Regions from separate parts of the Homo sapiens genome. Here region 1 is linked to region 2. Evidence: promoter capture Hi-C in 16 types of primary human blood cells and fetal thymus (Javierre and others, 2016). All regions are on one chromosome and are shown on one strand. The core of a region is centred on a gene start or on the middle of the fragment in contact, and the rest is flanking DNA. Distances in the headings are between cores, read along the strand shown.

What was found. The method cuts DNA at HindIII sites, captures the fragments that hold promoters and counts their contacts. A CHiCAGO score of 5 or more calls a contact.
Region 1: a contact is called between a fragment that was not itself captured here and the fragment with the promoter of MOB3B in region 2, in 5 of 17 cell types (total B cells, monocytes, naive B cells and 2 more). The highest score is 12.8, in total B cells.

The regions. Positions count from the first base shown.
Region 1 is chr9:27,416,243-27,423,137 of GRCh38, forward strand. The region is part of intron 2 of MOB3B (MOB kinase activator 3B); the gene reads right to left. Among named protein-coding and RNA genes, the nearest start is that of IFNK, 100 kb to the right of the region's middle. The HindIII fragment of the contact is 8,611 bases long and covers 1-6,384 here.
Region 2 is chr9:27,528,506-27,535,325 of GRCh38, forward strand. MOB3B (MOB kinase activator 3B) reads right to left here and starts at 1,309. Exons shown (of 4, transcript NM_024761.5): 1 at 1,050-1,309. It overlaps LOC124902107 (dapper homolog 3-like), which reads left to right. Exons shown (of 2, transcript XM_047424279.1): 1 at 1-221; 2 at 515-2,195. The coding sequence ends at 1,503. RefSeq lists silencers at 37-86, 1,057-1,356. The HindIII fragment of the contact is 3,596 bases long and covers 1-2,640 here.

The sequences.
Region 1 (6,895 bases), core at 829-3,328, 110 kb before region 2:
AGTATAGGTATGCTTAAGGATCAGTTAACAAGAGAAATCTAGTAAGTGGCATATCAGGGAAAAAAGAGCTTTTCTTTGAAATGGCAATAGTAGAGGGACTTCAGAGAATCTGGTCTAATCTCCACGTTTGGGATTTTTAGGAAGTTTAAAATGGCTGGTGCTTAATTTGATGGAGGGGTGGGCTGCTAGATTCCTTTGACAACCTGAAAAAGCTATAGATATTCTACCTATAAAACACATTCTTAAAGACTTTAGATATCATTTGGAGGTTCTGTGGAACCCCTGGAGTAATTTCTTTTTAATTTTTTTTTTTTTTTTTTTTTTTTTTGAGATAGGGTCTTGCTCTGTCATCTAGTCTGGAGTGGAATGCCTTGACCTCCTGGGCTCAAGTGATCCTCCTGCCTCACCCTCCCAAGTAGCTAGGACTACAGGCATGATGTACCACCATGCCCAGCCAATTTTTAAGTTTTTTTTGTAGAGGCAGGATCTTGCTATGTTGCCCAGGCTGGTCTTAAACGTCTGGCTTTAAGTAATCCTCCTGCCTCAGCCTCCTGAAAAGCTGGGATTACCGGCATGAGCCACCACGGCTAGCTCATCTTTCCTTTGCTTTTCTTCGTAAAACAGAACAAAAGATAGCCACCACTCCACGTCTGTAAATGTGCTTATGACTACTAGAATAAGCAGGGGACACCTGTTACCGTTAGTTACATCTGGAGTTTAGAACTGGTGTGCGATTGAAGGGGAGAAAGAAACAATGTTATTGGGATTTTAGACACCTGGGATTGCTTAAATTATTACCATGAAGATACAGGATGTATTACTTTTAAAACTCAAATGCCGGCAGGGTGCAGTGGCTCACGCCTGTAATCCCAGCACTTTGGGAGGCCGAGGCAGGTGGATCACGAGGTGAGGAGATCGAGACCATCCTGGATAACACCGTGAAACCCCGTCTCTACTAAAAAATACAAAAAATTAGCCAGGCGTGGTGGCGGGCACCTGTAGTCCCAGCAACTCGGGAGGCTGAGGCAGGAGAATGGTGTGAACCTGGGAGGCGGAGCTTGCAGTGAGCCGAGATTGCGTCACTGTACTCCAGCTTGGGCGACAGAGCGAGACTCCGTCTCAAAAACAAAAGGAAACAAAACAAACAAACAAACAAACAAACAAAACGTCAAATGCCTGAAATGCATACATGAGAGGGAAAGAAAAAGAGAGACACCCTGTGCTTTAAATGGAACAATAAAGTTTCCTTTGAGTGATCTTATTACAGCTCCTCTGCTCACAGCCTCCCTGTGCCCAGCTCCAGGAATCAACAATTCTCTTCCTTGGGATTTAAAAAAACACTTTCTAAGCCTCTCAGCTTCTGCTGAGAATCCCCAAGGGAAAAGAAAAACAAAAATGCTAGTACTTTGGACTCTAGCAGCAAAGGGATGGTGAAAAAAACCACCGTTTATTGAGGACTCACAAGTACTTTACATACATGAGCTCATGTGATCTTTACACCAACCCTCTGGGGTTAGAAAATAGAAACACAACCCTTTGGCCGGGTGCGGTGGCTCACGCCTGTAATCCCAGCACTTTGGGAGGTCGGGGCCGGTGGATCACAAGGCCAAGAGATCGAGACCATCCTGGCCAACTTGGTGAAACCCTTAGTACAACTTGGTGTACACTTAGTACAACTTGGTGTACTAAAAATTCAAAAATTAGCTGGGTGTGGTGGCACACGCCTGTGGTCCCAGCTACTTGGGAGGCTGAGGCAGGAGAATAGCTTGAACCTGGGAGGCGGAGGTTGCAGTGAGCTGAGATCACACCATTGCACTCCAGCCTGGGAGACAGGGTGAGACTCCACCTCAAAAAAAAAAAAAAAAAAAAAGTAATACAACCCTCTTAGCTTAAATCAGGAAGAATTAGAAACCCTCAATAGACCAAAAACAAGCAGCGAGATTGAAATGGTAACTTAAAAATTATCAAAACAAATGTCCAGGACCAGACAGATTCACAGCAGAATTCTACCAGACATTCAAAGAAGAATTGGTACAAATCCTTTTGACACTATTTTGCAAGATAAAGAAGGTACCCTCCCTAATTCACTCTATGAAGCCAGCATCACCCTAATACCAAAACCAGGAAAAAATATAACCAAAAAAGAAAACTACAGACCAATATCCCTGATGAACATAGATGCTAAAATCCTTAAAAAAAATACTAGCTAACCAAATCCAACAACATATCAAGAAGATAATCCACCACGATCAAGTGGGTTTCATACCAGAGATACAGGGATGGTTTAACATATGCAAGCCAATAAATGTGATACACATAAACAGAATTAAAAACAAAAATCATATGATCATCTCAATAGATGCAGAAAAAGCATTTGACAAAATCCAGCATCTCTTTATGATTAAAACTCTCAGAAAAATCAGCATACAAGGGATATATCTTAATGTAATAAAAGCCATCTATGACAAATCCACAGCCAACATAATACTGAATGGGGAAAAGTTGAAAACATTCCCTCTGAGAACTGGAACAAGACAAGAATGCCCACTCTCACCACTCCTCTTCAGACAAGAGAAAGAAATAAAGGCCATCCAAATCGGTAAAGAAGAAGTCAAACTGTCACTGTTTGCTGACAATGTGATCGTTTACCTTGAAAACCCTAAGGACTCCTCCAGAAAGCTCCTAGAACTGATAAAAAAAAATTCAGCAACATTTCTGGATACAAGATTAATGTACACAAATCAGTAGCTCTTCTATACACCAACTGCGACCAAGCGGGGAATCAAATCAAGAACTCAACCCCTTTTACGATAGCTGCAAAAAAAAAAAAAAAAGACTTAGTAACATACCTAACCAAGGAGTCGAAAGACCTCTACAAGGAAAACTACAAAACCCTGCTGAAAGAAATCATAGATGACACAAACATATGGAAACTCATCCCATGCTCATGGATGGGTAGAATCAACATTGTGAAAATGAACACACTGACAAAGGAAATCTACAAATTCAATGCAATTCCCATCAAGATACCACCATCATTCTTCACATAATTAGAAAAAACAATTCTAAAATTCATATGAACCAAAATAAGAGCTCACATAGCCAGGGCAAGACTAAGCAAAAGAACAAATCTGGAGGCATCACACTACCTGATTTTAAACTATACCATAAGGGCATAGTCACCAAAACAGTGTGGTACTGGTATAAAAATAGGCACATACACCAATGGAACAGAATAGAGAACCAGAAATGAACCCAAATACTTACAGCCAACCGATCTTCAACAAAGCAAACAGAAACATAAAGTGGGGAAAGGACACCCTTTTCAACAAATGGTGCTGGGATAATTGGCTAGCCACAAGTAGGAGAATGAAACTGGATCCTCATCTCTCGCCTTATACAAAAATCAACTTAAGACGGATTAAAGACTTAAACCTAAGACCTGAAACTATAAAAATTCTAGAAGATAACATTGGAAAAAGCCTTCTAGCCATTGGCTTAGGCAAGATTTCATGACCAAGAACCCAAAAGCAAATGCAATAAAAACAAAGACAAATAGCTGAGACCTAATTAAACTAAAGAGCTTTTGCACGAAAAAAGGAACAGTCAGCAGAGTAAATAGAAAACCCACAGAGTGGGAGAAAATCTTCACAATCTATACATCTGACAAAAGACCAATATCCAGAATCTACAACAAACTCAAACAAATTAGTAAGAAAAAAACAAACAATCCCTTGAAAAAGTGGGCTAAGCACATGAATAGACAATTCTCAAAAGAAGATACACAAATGGCCAACAAACATGAAAAAAAATGTTCAACATCACTAATGATCAGGGAAATGCAAATCAAAACCACAATGCAATACCACCTTACTCCTGCAAGAATGGCCATAATAAAAAAATCAAAAAAGAGTAGATTTTGGCATGGATGCAGTGATCAGGGAACCCTTCTACACTGCTGGTGGGAATGTAAACTAGTACAGGCACTATGGAAAACAGTGTGGAGATTCCTTAAAGAACTAAAAGTAGAACTACCATTTGATCCAGCAATCTCACTACTGGGTATCTACCCAGGGGAAAAGAAGTCATTATTCGAAAAAGATATTTGCACACACATGTTTATAGCAGCACAATTCACAATTGCAAAATTGTGGAACTAACCCAATTGTCCATCGATCAACGAGTGGATAAAGAAACTATGATTATATATATATATTCCATCTACATATTCCATCTATATATTTCATATATATTCCATCTATATATTCCATCTATATTCCATCTATATATTCCATCTGTATATTCCATATATATATATATATATATATATATATATATATATATATATATATATGGAATACTACACAGCCATAAAAAGGAATGAATTAACAGCATTTGCAGTGACCCGGATGAGATTGGAGACTATTATTCTAAGTGAAGTAACTCAGGAATGGAAAACCAAAGGTCATATGGTCTCACTGATATGTGGGAGCTAAGCTATGAGGATGCAAAGGCATAAGAATGATACAACGGACTTCAGGGACCTGGGGGGAAGAGTGGGAGGGGGACAAGGGATAAAAGACTTCAAATATGGTGCAGTGTATACTGCCCAGGTAATGGGTGCAGCAAAATCTCACAAATCACCACTAAAGAACTTACTCATGTAACCAAATACCACCTATACCTCAATAACTTATGGAAAAAAAGAAAATAGAAAGGTCAGTAACATCTTCCACTGACCCAGAGCTTGACAACAGCAATGATCACATCTGTATTGGGAGGCCTTTACCATCCATGAGGGGTAACCTTGCACCCACCTTCTCCCTACATGGAAGAGCGGTATTCTCACCTCCATTTTTTTTTTTCAGACGGAGTTTCGCTCTTGTTGCCCAGGCTGGAGTGCAATGGTGCAAACTCAGCTCACTGAAACCTCCGCCTCCCGGGTTCAAGCGACTCTCCTGTCTCAGCCGCCCAAGTAGCTGGGATTACAGGCACATGCCACCACGCCCGGCTAATTTTTGTATTTTTAGTGGAGATGGGGGTTTCATCATATTGGTCAGGCTGGTCTCAAACTCCTGACCTCAGGTGATCTGCCTGCCTCGGCCTCCCAAATTGCTGGGATTACAGGCGTGAGCCAACATGCCCGGCCACTCTCACCTCCATTTTATAGGCAAAGAATTGAGGCACACAGCCCTAGAGTGAGTTAAGTGAGAGTAGCATAAAGTGCAGGTCTTTTTGCTCACCTTGGGTGCTCCTTTCAAACCACGCAGTTCTCTACAAAGCAGCCAGAGTAGTTCTTTTAAAACACCAGGCCGGGGGGCGGGGGTTACTTCACATTTCTGCTGAAAATCCTCAACTGGTTTCTCGTCATCCTCAGAATAAAGTCCCAAAACCTTACTGTGGCCTCACATAATTTGTCTACCTCCAACTTCCTCCATTTCCACACTCCAGCTGCACTGGCCTCCTTGCTAGTCCTCACACATTCCAAATGTGGTTCCACCCCAGAACCTTGGTATTCACTCTTCCCTCAGCTTGGAATGTGCTTTCTCCAGATGTCGGAGGGTTTGCTTCTTATGTCATTCAGGTGTGGCTCCAGTAGCTTTCTTTTCTGCCCCTACTGTATAAAATAGCACCCATCACTCTCTAGCTGCTTTTCTTCATAGCACTTATCACCACCTGACATCTATATCTGATTATGGCCTGCCTCTCCTCCCCACTCTCAATGCAGATATAAGTTCAATGAGAGTGAGGATTTAGTCTTTATTGTTCTCTGCTGTGTCCTCAGTAAGTGTCAAAACAGTGCCTGGAACCCAGTAGGGGCTCCATTAATATTTGCTGAGTGAATGAATGAATAAATACATGAATACGTGAATGAATGCTACCTCTTTTCAGGGCAATAAGTTACAAATGGAAAATAGTGAGGATCAAATATTCAATTCATTCAACTTGCAAATCTGGGGCTGATCTTGCCTTTCAAATAGGTGGCTGGCTGAGCAATTTACATTTCAGCTTTCATTTCCCACTATTTCCTCAGTTCATTCATTTAATCTTCCCTGCAATAAAATAAATCAACAACCCACCATTAAATGCATAGTTCAGTCCAACTTCAACGCTTTATTTTTAGAGGAGACTTTTACAATAGAGGCATTTGGTAAATGTGAAATATGACCAACACCTATCTTGGTTCCACCTCTCTAATTCTGTTGATATAGTCTGACCTAGGTTTCTAGACACCCTATGGAAGTTAAAGTTATTAATGGAATGCAACCAAGATGCCATATTTAATCAAGATAGCTGAAGACAGATTTTATCTTTGTTTTCATGCATTGGCAATATGTAGTTTTATGTGTTGCCAACAATTTGAGGGGAGTGATGCACTTCTTAAGCTTTTTGTATGACACTTTTCATGAGATCAGTCTCTGATGAATATTAATGACTTTCAAAAAAATTGTATCTGGAAGAGACAATCATAGGTCTTGTTGAAGCATGTATACCACAAATTGTACTTTGCTTGTAAATTCCAGTTACAGAAAAAATTTATCAGGAGACACTGTACTGTGATCTTTAAAATTATTAAATGTACACATAAACATTTAAAAGATGAATCTTGAAAATTAGTTTTCTATGTCCTGAATCTAGACAGAAAAAAGCTGGGAATATGTATCTGGTATATCTTGATAGGGTCTGGAAAAAAGTGTTGTTCAATAGTCAATCTGGAAAGAAGGTGAATATTAGACGAATTATCCCAATAATAATGAGCATGAAATCTGAAAATACTACAGAGCTGAGGCTTTACTTATGGGTCCACATGGAGAGCCAGAAAGAACGCTACATGGCAAGTCAGGATACTCATGCTGTTCAATAAAGCAAACATTTTTAGTGCCTATTATGTGTT
Region 2 (6,820 bases), core at 59-2,558:
CCTCCGCCCTCTAACCACAAGGGCGGGGTGGGGCGGCCTCGCTGGGGTCGGGCTCCTCCACTTTCCCAGCTGGGATCCCCTGCCGGAGCTGGCGTGGGGGCCGGGGAGGGGGACCAGAGGGGCTTCCTTCTCTCCCCAAGCCCCGCCAGATGTTGGAAAGGCAAACAATAGGGGAAACGCGGAGAAACAAAAGGCCATTCGCCACGATCTCAGTCGGCTGCGTAGAGAGATCTCTGTGGGGAGGGTTAGGGGAGAGGGTCAGGAAAGAGCGCGAGGGGGGGGATCCCGAGAGATTTAGAGTCTCTGGTACTTGCCAGGCACCAGGGGTCGGCGCTTTACCCTCCCAGCAGGGGTCTGAAGGTGGGAAGGGGCAATCAAAGAAAACTTGAAGGGTTTTCACCTTCTTCCCCAGTTCAGGGAAAGGGAGGGGCTGGGATTCCAGATGTTTGACAGTTGTTGGCCCCAAAGTTAAGCGCGATTTGTACGGCCTTTACACGCTCCCCACCTCCGTGAGGCATCGTCAGCCCCGGGGGCGACCTGGCTGACGGTGCGGACTTCCCCTACGCTGCCCCAAGCCGAGACTCCTCCCTCAGGATCAGGACGCCCAAGCGTTGTCCCCCAGCCCAGGCGCACTTTTGTAAAAGTTTGTCTTCCCGCCACCCACAGCCCAACACGCACCCTGCAGGCGTCCGCGGCTGGGGATGGGCTCGGAGTCTTGCACCCCGAAAGAAGGACGATCTTATTGATTTATATCTTTTCAAATCAAGGACAAATCAAGATCCCGGGGTGGAAAGTGGGCGACCCTTGTTCCTGCCGGGAAGTGCACACGAGGAGCCGGCCAGAAACCCAGGCGCCGGCAGGGGTCTGAAGAGGACTCCAGCCCCGGAAGCCCGTGGCCGGCGGGCAGAAGACCGGTCCGCCGCCTCCCGCACCTTCTTGCACCCGCGCCCAGGTGCGCCCCAAACCTCGCCGCCCGCCCGGGCGAGATCGGGAGCGAGCAGCCACCGGGCTGCGCCGCCTCCCCTAGCTTGGAGCGGGTTCTTACTCACCGTGGGGTTTTACCTCCAGCCCAGGGCCCGGTCGGCTCCCTTCGCCGGGTCAGCTGCAGCCAGCGCGAAAGAAAATGGTGAGCTCGGGGCAGGTGGGGCGTCGCTTGCCAATCCACGCAAGGGACTCTGCCGCCGGTGCGCGAGGTCCCGGCGAGCCAACCGGCGGACGGGCGAGCGCCTGGCTCCAGCTGCAGCCGCCGTCGCTCCGGAGCAGCCCCCTCATGCACCCAGCGCGCCGCGCAGCCGGCCGGGGCTCGACTGTCTCGCGGGGACGCCGAGCGGGGACCCCTGGCGGCCGCCTGCGGTATGGCAGCACCGTGGAGAGAAAAGTCGTCTTTGGGATCATCTTCCCTCCGGAAAGAGATGGGACATGACCAGTCTAAGGGGGCTTCCAGCCTTGCAGAAAAGACACTGGGCCAGGGCAGTGAAGAAGGTGTCAGATCAGAAAGGATGATCTCTGGGTCCACAACGGCCACTTCCAAGGCACCTAGAGAGGGGGAAACAGTTTGCCTTCCCCAGGATTTTCTGATTGTTGAAAAATACCATGAACTGCCTGACACAGAGCGGAGCATAAATCATTGGAAAATACTCAGATTCTAGTGGATTTACTAGAACACACTGGGAGTCATGGATGAACCTGGATTTTAAAGCTCAACCCACAGCCCGCCACTCTCTACTTGTGTGGTCTTGGTCTATCTACAACCTTAAAGCCTCAGTATTCTCCTCCGTAAATTGGCGGGGAGCAATATCACCCTTGCAGGGTGATGGTTACGGGTAAACTACATTTGAAACGTTTTTATAGTTTATAGTAACAGAAATCAAATATGAGCTTCCTGCCTTCTGGAGAAAAAGAATTGGATCTTTCACATTTTTCTATTACCCATATGATCACATCTTAATGCATATTGATTGAACTGTACCAAATGACGAAGTACTGCATTTTACCATTCTTACTACACACTTCAAAGAGGTGTGGAAATATATTAAGTAGAAATTAGGATATATAGAGAAAACATCCCTCCTCCAAAAGAGGTTTCTGCAACTAACTACGAAGTGAGAACTTCTAAAATCACTTACATCTTTTGCAATATCATCTCAGATATTGTAAGAAACATTTAATAAATAGTCATGACTTAATGATATCAACCCTGGATTAAATGACTCTAATTCTGTGTCACTTTTGTGTAATGTAAAGATACCGATTGTGAATATAAGACTCAAATATGGGAAAACTGCCAGATACAAAAATACAGCCGCTAAGCAATATTTCTGTTCATCACCGAGGAATCTCATTTCCAAAGTGCCCCAGTTTTTAAGAGGAAGAACACCAGAGTCAGACAGACCCATAGCAGCTGAGTCTAACCTTTCTGAAGCTCTGTTACCTCATCTTATAAAATGAGGATAATATAGGTAGCTGTCATTCAATGAAGGAATGCATACAACATGCTTAGCATAACACCTGTCACATGGTAAGTGCTCCAGGGTCACCACCTATCATTGTTTCCAGCATACAGTTATCACCCCACCGACATGTAGCCCCTCCCTCATGAGCTCAAGAGCCCCCAGCACGTGTTCTACTCACACACGCACAAGCTTCAGTGTCCCTTAAGATGTTATCTCCTGGAAAGTAGGAACAGAAAGAGAATATTTTCAGGTAGTTTGGAACAGAATGAATAACATTCACATTCCTTGCCCAAGTCAGTACAGATTAATTTCCATCATTTCCAACTCATACTTTATACATTTCCCATAAGAGGAAAATCATGCTGGTTTTCAGTAGCATATGAAAAAAAAAAAATTCCAAGAGGATTCTTTTGCCAAGCCACTTCATTACAGCTTCCCCTTAGAGGATACCAAAGAAGCACAGGGATATTGGAAAGGTGTCACCATAGCAACATTGTAATAGACAGATGACAATAGAGTAAAAGCGAAGAAAGCACATTTGCATAGTCATTGACAAACTTGGACCTACAGTCATATTGCTCTGGGCAGCAGTGCTCAGAGTCCAAGGGCTACTCAAAGTAAATTTGGTAAGAGGCTATTTCTATTCATTTTGGCTGAGTCTGACTACCCAGTTCATTGTGCTCATGTGTGTGCTAATTGTAATTGTTACAGGCAGTTCACTAACAAACAGCAGACATCCTCAAGAGTCCCTTTCATCCTAAGCAATGTGAGTTCACAAATCTAAATGTGTACCTAATAAATCTTCAATAGTAAAGCGTACTTCCTCCTTACCTGCTTCTGTTTTGTTTTCAAAACCTTAAATAGTCACAGGTATAGAGAAATTGTCTCAATGCTTATGGGAGCTTCTGTGATAACTTATGTTAATTAACTCTGGGTACTGAAAAGAAACAAACGTGCATGGCTTCCCCTAAGCACTGAGGTAATGGCAATTCAAATAACAGCAAATTTATATATGTGATATACACAGATTTATATATATATAAATATATCACATATAGATATATAAGAAGACATCATATATATATACACACACATTTTAGAGATCATATATATCTTTTAAGCAATTTCAAACCATACAAGAATCCATATATGATCTTAAGGCATAATTTCTGCCAGCATACTTCTCAACATTTATAATGACACTAAATGTCTATAGTCGTTTCCTCTGAAATGCACATTACATCAATCCCTTTTTGTGAAAGTGGAACTAAGGCATAAAAAGGTCAGAGTTCAGGAGCTGGGAAGAACATATGACAGTGTTCAAAGTTGTTTCAGTGACAGCTGAACAAGATAGTGTCATGTGGAATCATAATGGACAATTATCTGCTTTCTGGTCTATAGGAATAGAGTGAGTGTTCTTTCCCAAGTTTAAAAAAAAATTATTGAAAAGAGACTGTACTCTTTCTTCCTGCTCTTAGAATCTGTTTTGTTTATAGTGACCCAATGCTCCTTCATATCTATCAGATGGTATTTTTTTCTTATTTAAAAATACCCATGTGGTTGAGGCTGCAGTGAGCTATGATTGCACCACTGCACTCTAACCTGGGCAATGAGACCCTGTCTCAAAAAAAAAAAAAAAAAATAGTTTGTATCCTTAATAAGCGACCCTTCTTCTCAAGAGATGAGCCTGATGTTTCTGTCTGGCTTAACATTAGCCAGGTGTGGTACACTTGTGATCTGCCTCAGTATTCTGAGTAATGGAGAGGAGTTCTCTCACTGTGAAACAGGTCAACTTAGATACGATCCAAAAAGGGTTAGTTGCCAGGAGAACCAAAGTCTAAGGTAGTCATATCTACAAGCCCATAGCCTGGACCCCCAAATTAATCCTACAGTGAGACTTTAGCACCTTTCACAAGTGGAGAAATCAGACCACTGTGTGCTCAATGGGTTTGGAATGTTGTGCTTTCAAAGTAATTAATACAGAAAGGCATAGAAAGATAGAGAAGAGACTAGTGACTCATGGATGCTTCCAACGTGATATAACGCCCCTTTCTCTTCTAAATAGTAAAATAATGAAGATCTCAAAGAGACTTTCTCTCTTTGAGAAACACAGCTTTACTGCTTTTGTGATCAATGCCCACTGCCCTCACCAACAAATCAGTCATTAATTCCCAACTGCCTTGCATTGCAAATATAGAAAAAAAGGTTTTTGGATCTCCTTAGCTCTCTTTGAATGTCTATAGGAAAGAAATGAAGGAAGTAAACTTTTCTACTGCCAGACTGAAGGTAGATTTTGATAAACTTGGAACCTCTCCAAATCACCCTCTACCCTCCTGGCATAGAAAATAAACAAGATTTTTCCCTTTACATCATAATTAAGGAAAGAGACAAAAATGAAGGTATCATCCAACCTGATCTTCTTTAGCCTCTAGCTGTTCTAACGACACAGAACTATTTTCTCAAGATTCCAATTAGGTTTGCTATACTGCTCAATATTAATTTCCTCTTAAGAAGCTACTTCACCATTTGGAAAGCCCCTTGGGTTGAATAATTATTGAATTTCTAAATGGCCTCTGGCTAGCCTCAATTGCATGAGTGTTTCATGTACAGTAAGTAATATGAAAGAGGCTTGCCTTGGGTATTGAACAGCCTCTAATGATGCTTTTCAGAGGGAAAAAATCCCTCTGAAAAGATTTTTGGAAAAGTTTCAGTTAAATTTTTCCCAAGTCTTCTTGTCTACTGCTCAGCAGAGTCTCTGTAGAAATGAATAGATAACTTCCTTCCTTCATTTTTCCCTTCCTTTTTTCTTTCTTTTATCCTGCCCTCTTCCGTCTTTGTTTCTTTCTCTTCTCTTCTCTGTTAGAGGATTTATGATAGCTAGGTAACTCATTAAGGTTTCTATCCAGTGTCCCAGAAGAATAATTCTTCTTTTTAATAAAATGAATTACATTTTCATTCCCTTTCCTTGTCTTTTTGTTTTCCTGTGTTCTTTTTGGTTTCTTTCAGCAGATGATAAACGATGTTTTCCTTTGAAATTGCTTCTCACTCCTGCTCAGACGGTCAGCATGAGAAGTCAAAAGGAAAGCATACACACTAGTAAGAGAATCAGGGCGTGGAAAAGGGTCTCTAAGACCCCAACCCCCAAGAAGGAGATGGAGACCCAAACATGCCAGTCATCAGTTTGAGGCTCATAGCTTGTTAGTTTAGAGCCAGATTTTGTACTTGTAGTTTGAGGAGCACAGCTTGTTAGAATCCAGATCTCATGGCTTTTAATCCAGAAATATTTCTTTGTTTGGGAGTTGTTTTTCATTGTTGCTGTTGGCCAGTAATTACGGTACTCTTGTGAAAAGGCTGTTTTATAGGTCAGTTATTTGGAAAGGCCGTTTTCCGTTTGTTTGGTACTGAATAAATGTGCTTGCCTTGTTCATTTGGCAATGTCCTGAGCTCCTCAATCTCTCAGTCCCTTCTTTTAGAAACAATGGTTTGCCTACAGGATGCCAGGTGCTTTTCTCAGGGCCCTGCTCCTGTTATATTTGATTTCTCTGTCAACCTTTTTACACTACTACATACGCCCAGAGTGACAGAAAAAAGGGAGAAGAGAAAGAAAGCAAAAGGAAACGAGAAAAGGAAGTTGAAAGCAAAAGAGGAAAGAAGGAAGGAAGGGAGGGTGGGAGGAAGGAAGGGAGGAAGGGAGGGAGAGATGTTGAAGATCACCAGTGACTTATACAGGAAAATTAATGATCAGATATCCTTTGTTAAATTTTAATACTGGCAGTCATGTCTGTTATTAGGGAATCCAAAAGTGATGAAAAGCAATCTCCCTTCCTTCTCCTCTGCTCTCCCCACTCCTACCCTACTACGCCCCAGGTTATACTTCACTGCATCTACTTGGATGATGACATAGGAGTCTGGCATTATGTTTCCTTAAAATTTGTCTGCCTTTTGTGGGGTTTGGTTGCCAACCACCCCTCTTATCCTACCTGCAATTTCCTCATTCCTTGTTTTATTTTTAGAAGAACACACCTACCCAGACACTCATTCTTTTTTACAAGTAGTCTAGTTGAAATGTGTTGACCTTGACCCCTATCGGCAGAACTGCTCAGCTGACCCATTGACTCTTGAGAAATAATAAGTAGTTGTAGTTTTAAGGTGCTACATTTTGGAGTGATTTGTTATGCAGTTTTATTGTGGCAATAAATAACTGATACAGATAATGTGGTGATCTTGATGAATACAAGAGTGCCTGGCCCGTAAGTAGACACTCAATAAATGTTGGACTGGAATGAACTGGCAAATAGAGTAAATTAATATTCATCAATAGGGGCTTAATTAAATATGTTGTGACATAGCCTAACAATGGAACACAA